Linked DNA regions of Homo sapiens: region 2 is linked to region 1. Evidence: promoter capture Hi-C in human tissues and cell types (Jung and others, 2019). All regions are on one chromosome and are shown on one strand. The core of a region is centred on a gene start or on the middle of the fragment in contact, and the rest is flanking DNA. Distances in the headings are between cores, read along the strand shown. Region 1 holds the start of BNIPL (BCL2 interacting protein like). Region 2 has its middle 7.6 kb from the start of TARS2.

Region 1 (5,156 bases), core at 1,559-4,058:
TACCCTACACATATATAGATCATAACCTTTAACTGCAATTATTTTTATATATGTTTATTTCCTACTAAGCAGAGAATTCCCTGTAGGCCCTCTCTTATTCATCTTTATAACCCCAGTCCTATACATGATAGTATGTAACAGGCATTCAATTAAATTTTCCTTAATAAACAATGGGCTCCCCTCCCCCTCTACTGACTACTCTCACATTGGACCTATAAGCCCAAGTTCCATTTGAGGAAACTAATTTTGCTGGCCGTAGCCCTTGGTCCCACCTTATTAGTTCTAACTGCAGTCCCATTAAGTCCATCCTGATCCTTTAGCTCTAGCCTCTACTTCTACCAGCTGAGTCCTCTGGTTTGTTTCCCACCTTCCCATTCAAATTCATGTCCACTGTCCAGCTGCTCCGAGTCTGAAGGTGTCTCCAATTCGTCTATCTCCAGGTCAGAACTGCCATCAGGAGAGGAAGGTGCAGACTGGGTGGGTGAAGCTCCATCATTTCCAGGCCCCTTAGTCAGACTCAGCCGCAACTCTGGGGCAGAAAGACGCTTGCGCATGGGGCGCTGGCCACACAGGGCTAAAGTGCTGGGGGTACCTGCAGCTGGAGAAAGGGGGAAAAAGAGAACCAAGATGGGTGTGTGTGTTGGAGAGCCGAGAGGGCTAGAATTCCTGTATGTGAAAGTGATAATATGGGGTGAATGCTGAAGAAGGACTCACGCAGGGGAGATTTGGGAAAAGGGGGAAATGGAACTGTAAAAGGATAGAGGTGGCATAGCCCTTTACTGGACTAGAATCAAGAACTTGAGGCCTGGTTTCTACTTGACCTACCTGCCTGTGAATCTCCTTTAGGGTCTTCAGGATCTTCAGAAGTGCCAGCCTCCTCAGGAAGCAATCTAGAGGGGAAGAGATTAAAAGGCGGCAGACATATACACCAAAGGCATCAAGCCAGGACTCAATATATAGGTTCTCTCTCCCCACCATGATTTTATCACCTATGCTGCTTTTTTTTTTAATTGTTTTTTTGAGACAGGGTCTCACTCTGTTGCCCAGGCTGGAATGCAGTGGCACAATCACAGCTCACTGCAGCCTCTACCTCCAGGGTTCAAGCGGTCCTCCCACCTCAGCCTCCCGAGTAGCTGGGCCTACAGGTGTGCACCACCACACTTGGCTAAATTTTGTATTTTTGTAGAGATGGGGTTATGCCATGTTGCCCAGAGTAGTCTTGAACTTCTGAGCTCAAGTGATCCACCTGCCTCGGCCTCCCAAAGTGCTGGGATTACAGGCATCAGCCACCACGCCCGGCCTCTGTTTTCTTTTTCCCATTTTTTTCCTTCAAGTCCTAATTCACCATCCCTGTGTCCATTTGCTTTTTTTTTTTTTTTTTTTTTTTTTTTTTGAGACAGAGTTTCACTCTTGTTGCCCAAGCTCGGGTGTAATGGCACAATCTCAGCTCACTACAACCTCTGCCTCCCAGGTTCAAGTGATTCTCCTGCCTCAGCCTCCCGAGTAGCTGGGATTACAGGCATGTGCCACCACACCTGGCTAATTTTGTATTTTTAGTAGAGACGGGATTTCACCGTGTTGGTCAGGCTGGTCTCAAACTCCTGACCTCAGGTGATCCACCCGCCTCGGCCACCCAAAGTGCTGGGATTACAGCCATGAGCCGCCGCGCCATCCCCTCCGTCCATTCGTGACCACCCCTCCCTTCTCCCAGCCACCCTCACACGTCCTCACCTAGGGAATTCTTCATCCTGCCATTCCTCCTTCAGCTCCAACTCCCCATGTCTCAGGGCTGCTCCTAGTTCTGGTGCTTCTGCAATCTCCCTGACCCTAAGACAGCCCCCAAGAAGAAAAGATCAAGGGAACTGAATAGTAGGTAAGAATAATTGAAATGAAGAACAGTAATTGAGATACAGAGCAGAGGATAGGCCTTCAAAAGGACTCAGATCTCTTGCCTCCTATACAGATGCTTCTCTTACCTTCACCACTTGCTAGAAGCAGATTACCTGCTGTTAAGTTTGGGAGCAGACGAAAGATGGAATGTAAAGTTAATCATATTTACCTCTGTAGCAGTTGCTCCACCTACAAAGTTGGGGTGAGAGATGTCCCACATTACAAGTGGCTGGAACCCAGCTAGACCCACCCAGCTATCATTGAGCAAAGTCGGGAAGACGGTACCTAGTTAGGCCTGCCTTTCCTCCACCGAGCTGGGGAGTGGCTAAGGGAAAACATGGCATAAGTGGAGGGGTGGAGGAAGAAGGTAAGGAGAAAGATTTGCCAGAACGAGAACCTGGACCTAAACTCGGTTCTGGTTCAGCTTTCCTGATGGCCATTCTGGAGGGTGAGGGTTAGAAAATAAAAGAACACAGGCAGATTTATCAGGTACAACATATTACAGAAACTTCCTTTATTTTTAAACCAGGGAATTATCCTGGAATCCTGTTCCCCAGTTCCATACCATACTGACATTTCCTACCTAAAACCACCCTCATCTCTTCTCTGCAAACTCTCTTACAGTCTTGTCTCCTTGAGGAACCCGAGATTTGACCCAGTAAGAGCTGGGTGGTGGGGAAGTCTCTCCGGACTGTTTATTCACTGTTACCAATCAAGTGAGCCAAGATCTTACTTACCCAACATCTGTCTTTTTTCCTGCCTCTTGTATAGTTCCCATCTTCACAAGTCTTCCTGCCTCCTTCTTTAAACACCTAGGAGTTGTTGGGGAGCTGGTTGTCCCAGCCCCCAACACTTCCTTACCTCTTTTCTGTCTCAGCTGTTGTAGCTCTTGCCTCCAAGGAGGGAGGTGTGGAAGGGAGGTAACCTCATCTTCAAAACAGGTTTTGCCACTCCTCTCCCCAGGAGCAGGTTTGCCCAAAAGAAAAACCCTGCCTCCTGTGAGGGGGCGGGTTTTGGGGAGGAGAGTGCATTTTCTAGTGGGGGCCAGTCTCGGTTGAGTCTAGGAAGGCAATTTGTTCTCCTTTCCAGACTCCATATATCCCTCTCAAAGTTGCTCTTTACACAAATAAGCAAAAAAACCAGTAGAAACCGTTGTGTTTCTGGCCGGGCGTGGTGGCTCACACCTGTAATCCCAACACTTTGGGAGGCCAAGGCAGGCGGATCACCTGAGGTCGGGAGTTTGAGACCAGCCTGACCAATGTGGAGAAACCCCATCTCTACTAAAAATCCAAAAAAAAAAAAAAAAAAAAAAAAAAAAAAAAATTATCTGGGCGTGGTGACACATGCCTATAATCCCAGCTACTTGGGAGGCTGAGGCAGGAGAATCGCTTGAACCTGGGAGGCAGAGGTTGTAGTGGGCTGAGATTGTGCCATTGCACTCCAGCCAGGGCAAAAAGAGCAAAACTCCATCTCAAAAAAAAAAAAAAAAAGAAAAAGAAACCATTGTGTGTGTTTCTAGGACTGTTATCTTGGATCTACTTTTCAAGCATAAGGAAAACTGGGGAAACGGAAGTATGTTATAAGGAGGTTTCTGGGAGAATAAACAAGTTGAACGGGAGGCTGAGGATGAGGGGAGACAGAAGCCTGTTGCTCCTTATTCCCAAAAAGAGTCAACAGAAAGAAGACATTAAGTATAGTAGGAAGAAGGGGGATCAATTTTGAGGAGACTGAAACAACTATCACAGAGAAAGGCCTGAATACACTTGTAAAAAAAGACAGTAAGACCCCCAAACAGGAAAAAATTATTTAATAGTATAACAAAATGCAAAATAAAGTACCCAAGTTACAAAACATAAATTCCTTTGGTTCATGATCACACCACTATTTTTACCTTCCACATAGCTACAGACATCACACCCTCAAAGTGAAGTCAAACTGTCCCCCTCATACTGAAGATGTCATGCCAAAACCATCACATACCCCACTGTTCAGTGAAACTGTTGGCAACTTACATGGAACAGAGCTGTGGGGTAGGAAAAAGGGGAAAGGGTTGCGTTAAAAAAAATGGGGAGACTCTACACATGCAGAACAAGTTAGTGGGAGGGAGTGCTCTGCTGGGTCAACACGCCATGAACCACACCCCTATTCGTGCTACATGAGGCTGAGTCCTTGCTACAACCACACAGAAATACAGACAATCAAGTGAACCTGAGCACCCCCAGGGATAACAGAAGAAAAATACAGAGAAGCAGAGGAGAGAAAGAATGGCAGCAAGAGGCAGATCACAGAATACCAGGGAACACCTAGTCCAAACCCTGTTTTACAGATGGGGAAAGTGAGACCTGGAGTAGTGAAGTGTCTTGCCAAAATACATAGTTTATGGGAGCATTAGAACTCCATGCTTCCTTTTAATGTGAGCAAGGAAAAAAAGAGATTGACAAGAAATTGATAGGCCTGCTAAGGCAGGAGACAGACCCAGGCCTCTCATTCCAGTTCTGTTGTCTTTTTGGAAGAGTGCCTATGAGGTCATTAAGGCCTTTCTGGGTGTTTTCTTGATTCTCAAGAGTCAGGGTTCTGGGTGGCTCTGGGACAGAGGGATCCAAAGAAACAGCCAGGCCACCTGATCAGGACAGAAGACAATGGCCTCTAATCTGTTCCCAAACTAGATCTGAAACAGTCACAATAAGCTAAGAATAGAAATTCAGCCATCTCTGAATCAAACACCATCACCTAAATGGTGGCAGAAAGAAAAGTCACCGAGCTGATAATCTGCTGTAGGCTGAAAACTGGAATAAATTTCCAAAGCGCACTCTCTTTTCTCTCTAGCTTGAGGCAGGTATTCAATAAATACTTGAATGAACAAGTGAATAAATGAATACATGGAGACCATCGATGAATGTTCAGTTCCATGACAGATACTGGTTCTGTTCAAGATCCATGCCGAGGACACTTTTGGGGTCTAAATTCTTTTTGTCCCACTGTGCTGGGACTGCAGATATGTCACATCGTGCCCCTGGCAAATAAAATAGAGAGAGGTGCAGATTTAAATAATAAAATGTGTCTGATTGGTAGAGATTAGGGGGAAAAGGTGGAAAACCATTCTTAAAGCAGCTGCTTTCTTTCACTTTTTTTCTCCTCTCAGTTTTATGAGAACAGTATACCAGATCCTGGAGCAATGAAGACAGAATTGCTGAATCTCCAAACATCTCAAAACATGCATTTGAAGTGAGTCAGGTAGCCTCACCCACTACCTCCTCGCCTCTCAA
Region 2 (5,215 bases), core at 2,056-4,555, 560 kb after region 1:
GTAATCTCAGCATTTGGGAGGCTGAGGCAGGTGGATCTGAGGTCAGGAGTTTGAGATCAGCGTGGCCAACATAGTGAAAGCCCGTCTTTACTAAAAATACAAAAATTAGCCAGGCGCGGTGGCTCACGCCTGTAATCCCAGCACTTTGGAAGGCTGAGGCGGGCAGATCACCTGAGGTCGGGAGTTCGAGACCAGCCTGACCAACATGGAGACACCCCGTCTCTACCAAAAATACACAATTAGCCAGGTGTGGTGGCACATGCCTGTAATCCCAGCTACTTGGGAGGCTGAGGCAGGAGAATGGCGTGAACCCGGGAGGCGGAGCTTGCAGTGAGCCGAGATTGCGCCACCGCACTCCAGCCTGGGTGACAGAGAGAGACTCTGTCTCAAAAAAAAAAAAAAAAAAAAAAAAAAAAAAGCCTGGCGTGGTGGCGCATGCCTGTAGTCCTAGCTACTTGGGAGGCTGAGGTGGGAGAATCACTTGAACCCCAGAGGCAGAGATTGCAGTGAGCCGAGATCGTGTCACTGCACTCCAGCCTGGGCAACCAAACAAGAATCCGTCTCAAAGGAAAAAAAAAAGATATTAGAGGTTAAAAAAAAAGGAATAAGGTAAAATATATAAAGAAAGGATTATGAGGCCGGGTGTGGTGGCTCATACCCGTAATCCCAGCACTTTGGGAGGGTGAGGTGAGCAGATCACTTGAGGTCAGGAGTTCAAGACCAGCCTGGCCAACATGGTGAAACCCATCTCTACTAAAAACACAAAAAATTAGTTGGGCATGGTGGTGCACGCTTGTAGTCCCAGCTATTCGGGAGGCTGAGGCGGGAGAATCGCTTGAACCTGGGAGGTGGAGGTTGCAAGGAATTAAGATCATGCCACTGCACTCCAACCTGGGAGACAGAACAAGACTCCGTCTCAAAAAAAAAAAAAAAAAAAGAAAAAAAAAAAGAAAGAAAAGAAAGGATTATGTCATTGCTAACAAAAACCTTTGGGGCCCAGAGAAGTAGCCAAGTGGCTAAAGGCACAAGTGGTAGGGAAGTTAGGTTTATTTTTTAAAAAATAATTCCCTAGTAATGTAAGTGGAAGATCTGGGATGGGGCCAATCTTTAACTTTGCTTTAAAATGCCATCATAGGCTGGGCATGGTGCCCCACACCTATAATCCCAGCACTTTGGGAAGCCAAGGCAGAGGACCGTTTGAACCCAGGAATTCAAGACCAGCCTGGATAACATAGTGAGATCCCATCTCTACAAAAATAAAAAAAATTAGCTGGGCATGGTGGTGCATGCCTGTAGTCCCAGCTACTCAGGAGGCTGAGGTGAGAGTTGCTTCAGCCCAGGAGTTGGGTTACAGTGAGCTATGATTATGACACTGCACTCCAGCATGTACAACAGAGTGAGGCCCCCGTCTCTAAAAATAAAATAAAAGGGCTGGGCATGGTGGCTCATGCCTGTAATCCCAGCACTTTGGGAGGCCAAGGCGGGTGGATCACTTGAGGCCAGGAGTTTGAGGCTAGCCTGGCCAACATGGCGAAACACCGTCTCTACTAAAAATACAAAAATTCGCTGGGCGTGGTGGTGGGCACCTGTAATCCCAGCTACTTGGGAGGCTGAGGCAGAATTGCTTGAACCAGGAGGTGGAGGTTGCAGTGAGCCGAGATCGCGCCATTGCACTCCAGTCTGGGTGACAAGAGTGAAACTCCATCTCAAAATTAATAAAATAAAATAAAATAAAATAAAATCAGGCCGGGCACAGTGGCTCACGCCTGTAATCCCAGCAGTTTGGGAGGCCGAGGTGGGTGGATCACCTGAGGTCAGGAGTTCTAGACCAGCGTGACCAACATGGTAAAACCCTGTCTCTACTAAATAATAATAAAAAAAAAAATTAGCCAGGCATGGTGGCACATGCCTATAATCCCAGCTACTTGGGAGACTGAGGCAGGAGAATCATTTGTACCTGGGAGGCAGAGGTTGCAGTGAGCCTAGATTTCGCCATTGCACTCCAGCCTGGGCAAAAAAGAATGATACTCCGTCTCAAAAAATAAAATAAATAAAATAAAAATAAAATCAATAAAATAAAATGCCACAATGTGTCCGGGAACAGTGCCTCATGTCTGTAATCCCAGCATTTTGGGAGGCCAAGGCAGGAGGACTGCTTGAGCCCAGGAGTTTATGACCAACCTGGGCAACAAAGCATGACCCTGTCTCTATTAAAAAAAAAAAAGAAAAGCCACAATGGGAGAGAATGTTCAGCCACATTTGCTGAATGAGTAAAGAGGTAAAAGCTTTCTGTCAGGGGCATGGATAAATTGAACTTTGACTTTGAAAACAAACCCTTGGGCTCACCTAAAATCTCTACTAAGATTTCCCTTCCCAGAACATCTCTTGGGGCTGTAGAAGAAAAACAAGCAGACACTCCCACCCCAGCTCTTACACAACTGATATGTCAGGTCAGGGCAAAAAGAGGAGATCCGCCAAACACAGGAGCTAGTCTAGGGTAGGGATGTGTCCATTTAGGTTCCACGCTAAAGTAAAAAACAAAGGGAAGGACAAAGTACTCTAAAAGAAGGTCCTAGATAACATCTGTAGAAGGAAATACAGGTTGAGTATCCTTATTTGAAATATTTGGGACCAAAAGTGTCTGATTTTGAATCTTTTCAGATTTTGGAATATTTGCATTATACTTACTGCTTGAGCATCCCTAATCTGAAAATCCGAAATCCTCCAATGAGCATTTCCTTTGAGTGTCATTTTCGTGCTCAGATTTTGGACTTTGGATTTGGGATGCTCAACCTGCATACAACTGAGGCTCACTTCTAAATAATAAAGATTTCAAATCATTTCCTAATCACTATTGCCCCTGGCAATGATTGACTATCTTCAGTGTTGTCTCATGTAGGTGCAAAGGACTGTTAGCCAGGGAGGAGGGAGAAACAGAGGAAAGGGATGCTGTCGGTCTCCTTTCTACCCATTCCAACTGAAACACCCCAAGAAAAATGTAGCAAGTTTCAAGTCCTTTTCTCTCCTCTCCCACAAATTATGTGGCAAAGGATATGAGTAATTCTCGAAAATAAGGGGACACAATGGGGATGAGGAAGGAAGATCGCTGGAATATCCAATTTACCATGACCCTGAACATGTCCAGGGTAGACTGGTTTAGCCAACTCTCAAGTCAAACACAAAAACCTGCAACCTGCATTTGTGTTTTCCTTTTGAGACGGCGTCTCACTCTGTCACCCAGGCTGGAGTGCAATGGCACAATCTTGGCTCACTGCAACCTCTGCTTCCCGGGTTCAAGCGATTCTCCTGCCTCAGCCTCCCAAGTAGCTGGGATTACAGGTGCGTGCCACCATGCCCAGCTAATGTCCCCCCCTCCCCCCACTCCGAGACAGAGTCTTGCTCTGTCACCCAGGCTGGAATGCAGTGGTGCGATCTTGCCTCACTGCAACCTCCGCCTCCCAGGTTTAGGCGATTCTCCTGCCTCAGCCTCCTGAGTAGCTGGGATTACAGGCGCGTGCCACCACGCCCAGCTAATTTTTGTATTTTTAGTAGAGATGGGGTTTCACCATATTGGCCAGGCTGGTCTCAAACTCCTGACCTCGTGATCCGCCTGCCTTGGCCTCTCAAAGTGCTGGGATTACAGGCGTGAGCCACCACGCCTGGCCCTAATTTTTGTATTTTTAGTAGACAGGGCTTTGTCATATTGTCCAGGTTGGTCTTGAACTCCTGATCTCAAGCGATCTGCCCGCCTTAGCCTCCCTAAGTGCTGGGATTACAAGCGTGAGCCACCACGCCTAGTCTGTATTTGTGTTTCCTCAGTTGGCACTGAAGAATTCACTAGCCCCTCCACCCATATCTGTATTCTCAATTTTTGATTCTTCCCTAGGTGTGAACAAAGGATAGAAAAACGTAACATTTAAAAAAGGAAATGTACAGTTGGCTCTGTCTGGGGGTTCTGCATCTATGGATTCGACCAACCACAAAAGTATTCAGGAAAAGGTAATAAAAAAATTAAAAGTAACACAAATTTCAAAACATACTGTATACAACTATGTACATAGCACTCACATTGTATTAGGTATTAGTAATCTAGAGATGATTTAAAATTTACTGGATGATGTGTGTAGGTTATATGCAAATACTATGCCATTGTATGTAGGGGACTTGAGCATCTGTGGATTTTGGTATCCATGGGGGTCCTGGAACCTGGTATCCTTCATGGATACCGAGGAGGGTTGACTGTAACTGCAATGATCAACTTTTACATAGATGTTGGCCTTCTTATCCTCTTCCCCTCAAACTTGTAACTAAGCAAAGGCTTCTCCTTTCTTTCCCCAGCAATTAATTAAAAGTAACTGATAGTTTTACACTGCACTTGCTTCTTTGCTTTAGAGTGCTTCTATTTCCTTCTACATGGGGAAGACAGAACAGGATGTTTACTTAAGGGCCAATATCTCTCTTACTGATGACCCTCTCGTAGCCTTGCCTATGCAGCCTCAGTGAGTTATTACTTAGCAATTGTGAACAGCAGCTGACCGGACTTGTCCATACAGTTACTCATAAACAAGTATGAGAAACGCCCCAATACCCCAAAACCCATTCTGATTGTGTTTGCATTGCTACGTCTACATACATGAAGGAATAACTCATCCCTGCTACACAAGATTGGCTTACATTAAAAAAAAAAATTAGGCAGAGGAAATTATGAATAACATGCCCAGAAAACCTTATGAGGAAGTCTCAAAGCTGTTGCTTCTTTAGGGGTAGATATAGAAATCAGGTGGGCAAGTCAAGGTCCCAAGAGACAAGGAAAAAAAGGGTGAGCCAGATTCCAGTACAGTGGTACACCCTACCTGCTGGGTGTGTTCCCAGGCCACTGCTATTTAAGTGTCTGGTGACACATGTACGTACCTTCACATAAGCAAGGCTGCTATTTAGAGCCTTCTACCCTGCCAGTGACCCAGGCCTGGCCCAGATGCAGTGACTATCCCTCTTTACCCCTTACAGCCAGCATTCCAACCCAGCCTCACTGGGTTATGAACAAGGGATGGGGTAAGACAGAAGGGTTAAGTGTGGCTTCTGCACAACAGATTGCCAATATGCAGTAAGGGCAGATGTGGGCAAATAATTGGCCAGAAGGATCCCTGCTACCACCCCAAACCCCCAATTCTATGCTTGCTTTAAAAATGCTTCTTGGCTCACAGTTGCACAACCT

Evidence for each region. The method cuts DNA at HindIII sites, captures the fragments that hold promoters and counts their contacts. A contact is called where the count stands out against the background at its distance.
Region 2: a fragment that was not itself captured here is called in contact with the fragment with the promoter of BNIPL in region 1 in 1 of the 25 tissues and cell types used here (lymphoblastoid cells).

Annotation. Positions count from the first base shown.
Region 1 is chr1:151,034,238-151,039,393 of GRCh38, reverse strand. It overlaps BNIPL (BCL2 interacting protein like), which reads right to left and starts at 2,808. Exons shown (of 10, transcript NM_138278.4): 1 at 2,628-2,808; 2 at 1,732-1,827; 3 at 826-890; 4 at 368-598. The coding sequence starts at 2,668. PRUNE1 (prune exopolyphosphatase 1) reads right to left here. Exons shown (of 8, transcript NM_021222.3): 8 at 3,681-5,156. The HindIII fragment of the contact is 8,096 bases long and covers 1,933-5,156 here.
Region 2 is chr1:150,477,246-150,482,460 of GRCh38, reverse strand. No RefSeq gene overlaps it. Among named protein-coding and RNA genes, the nearest start is that of TARS2, 7.6 kb to the left of the region's middle. The HindIII fragment of the contact is 7,423 bases long and covers 1-5,215 here.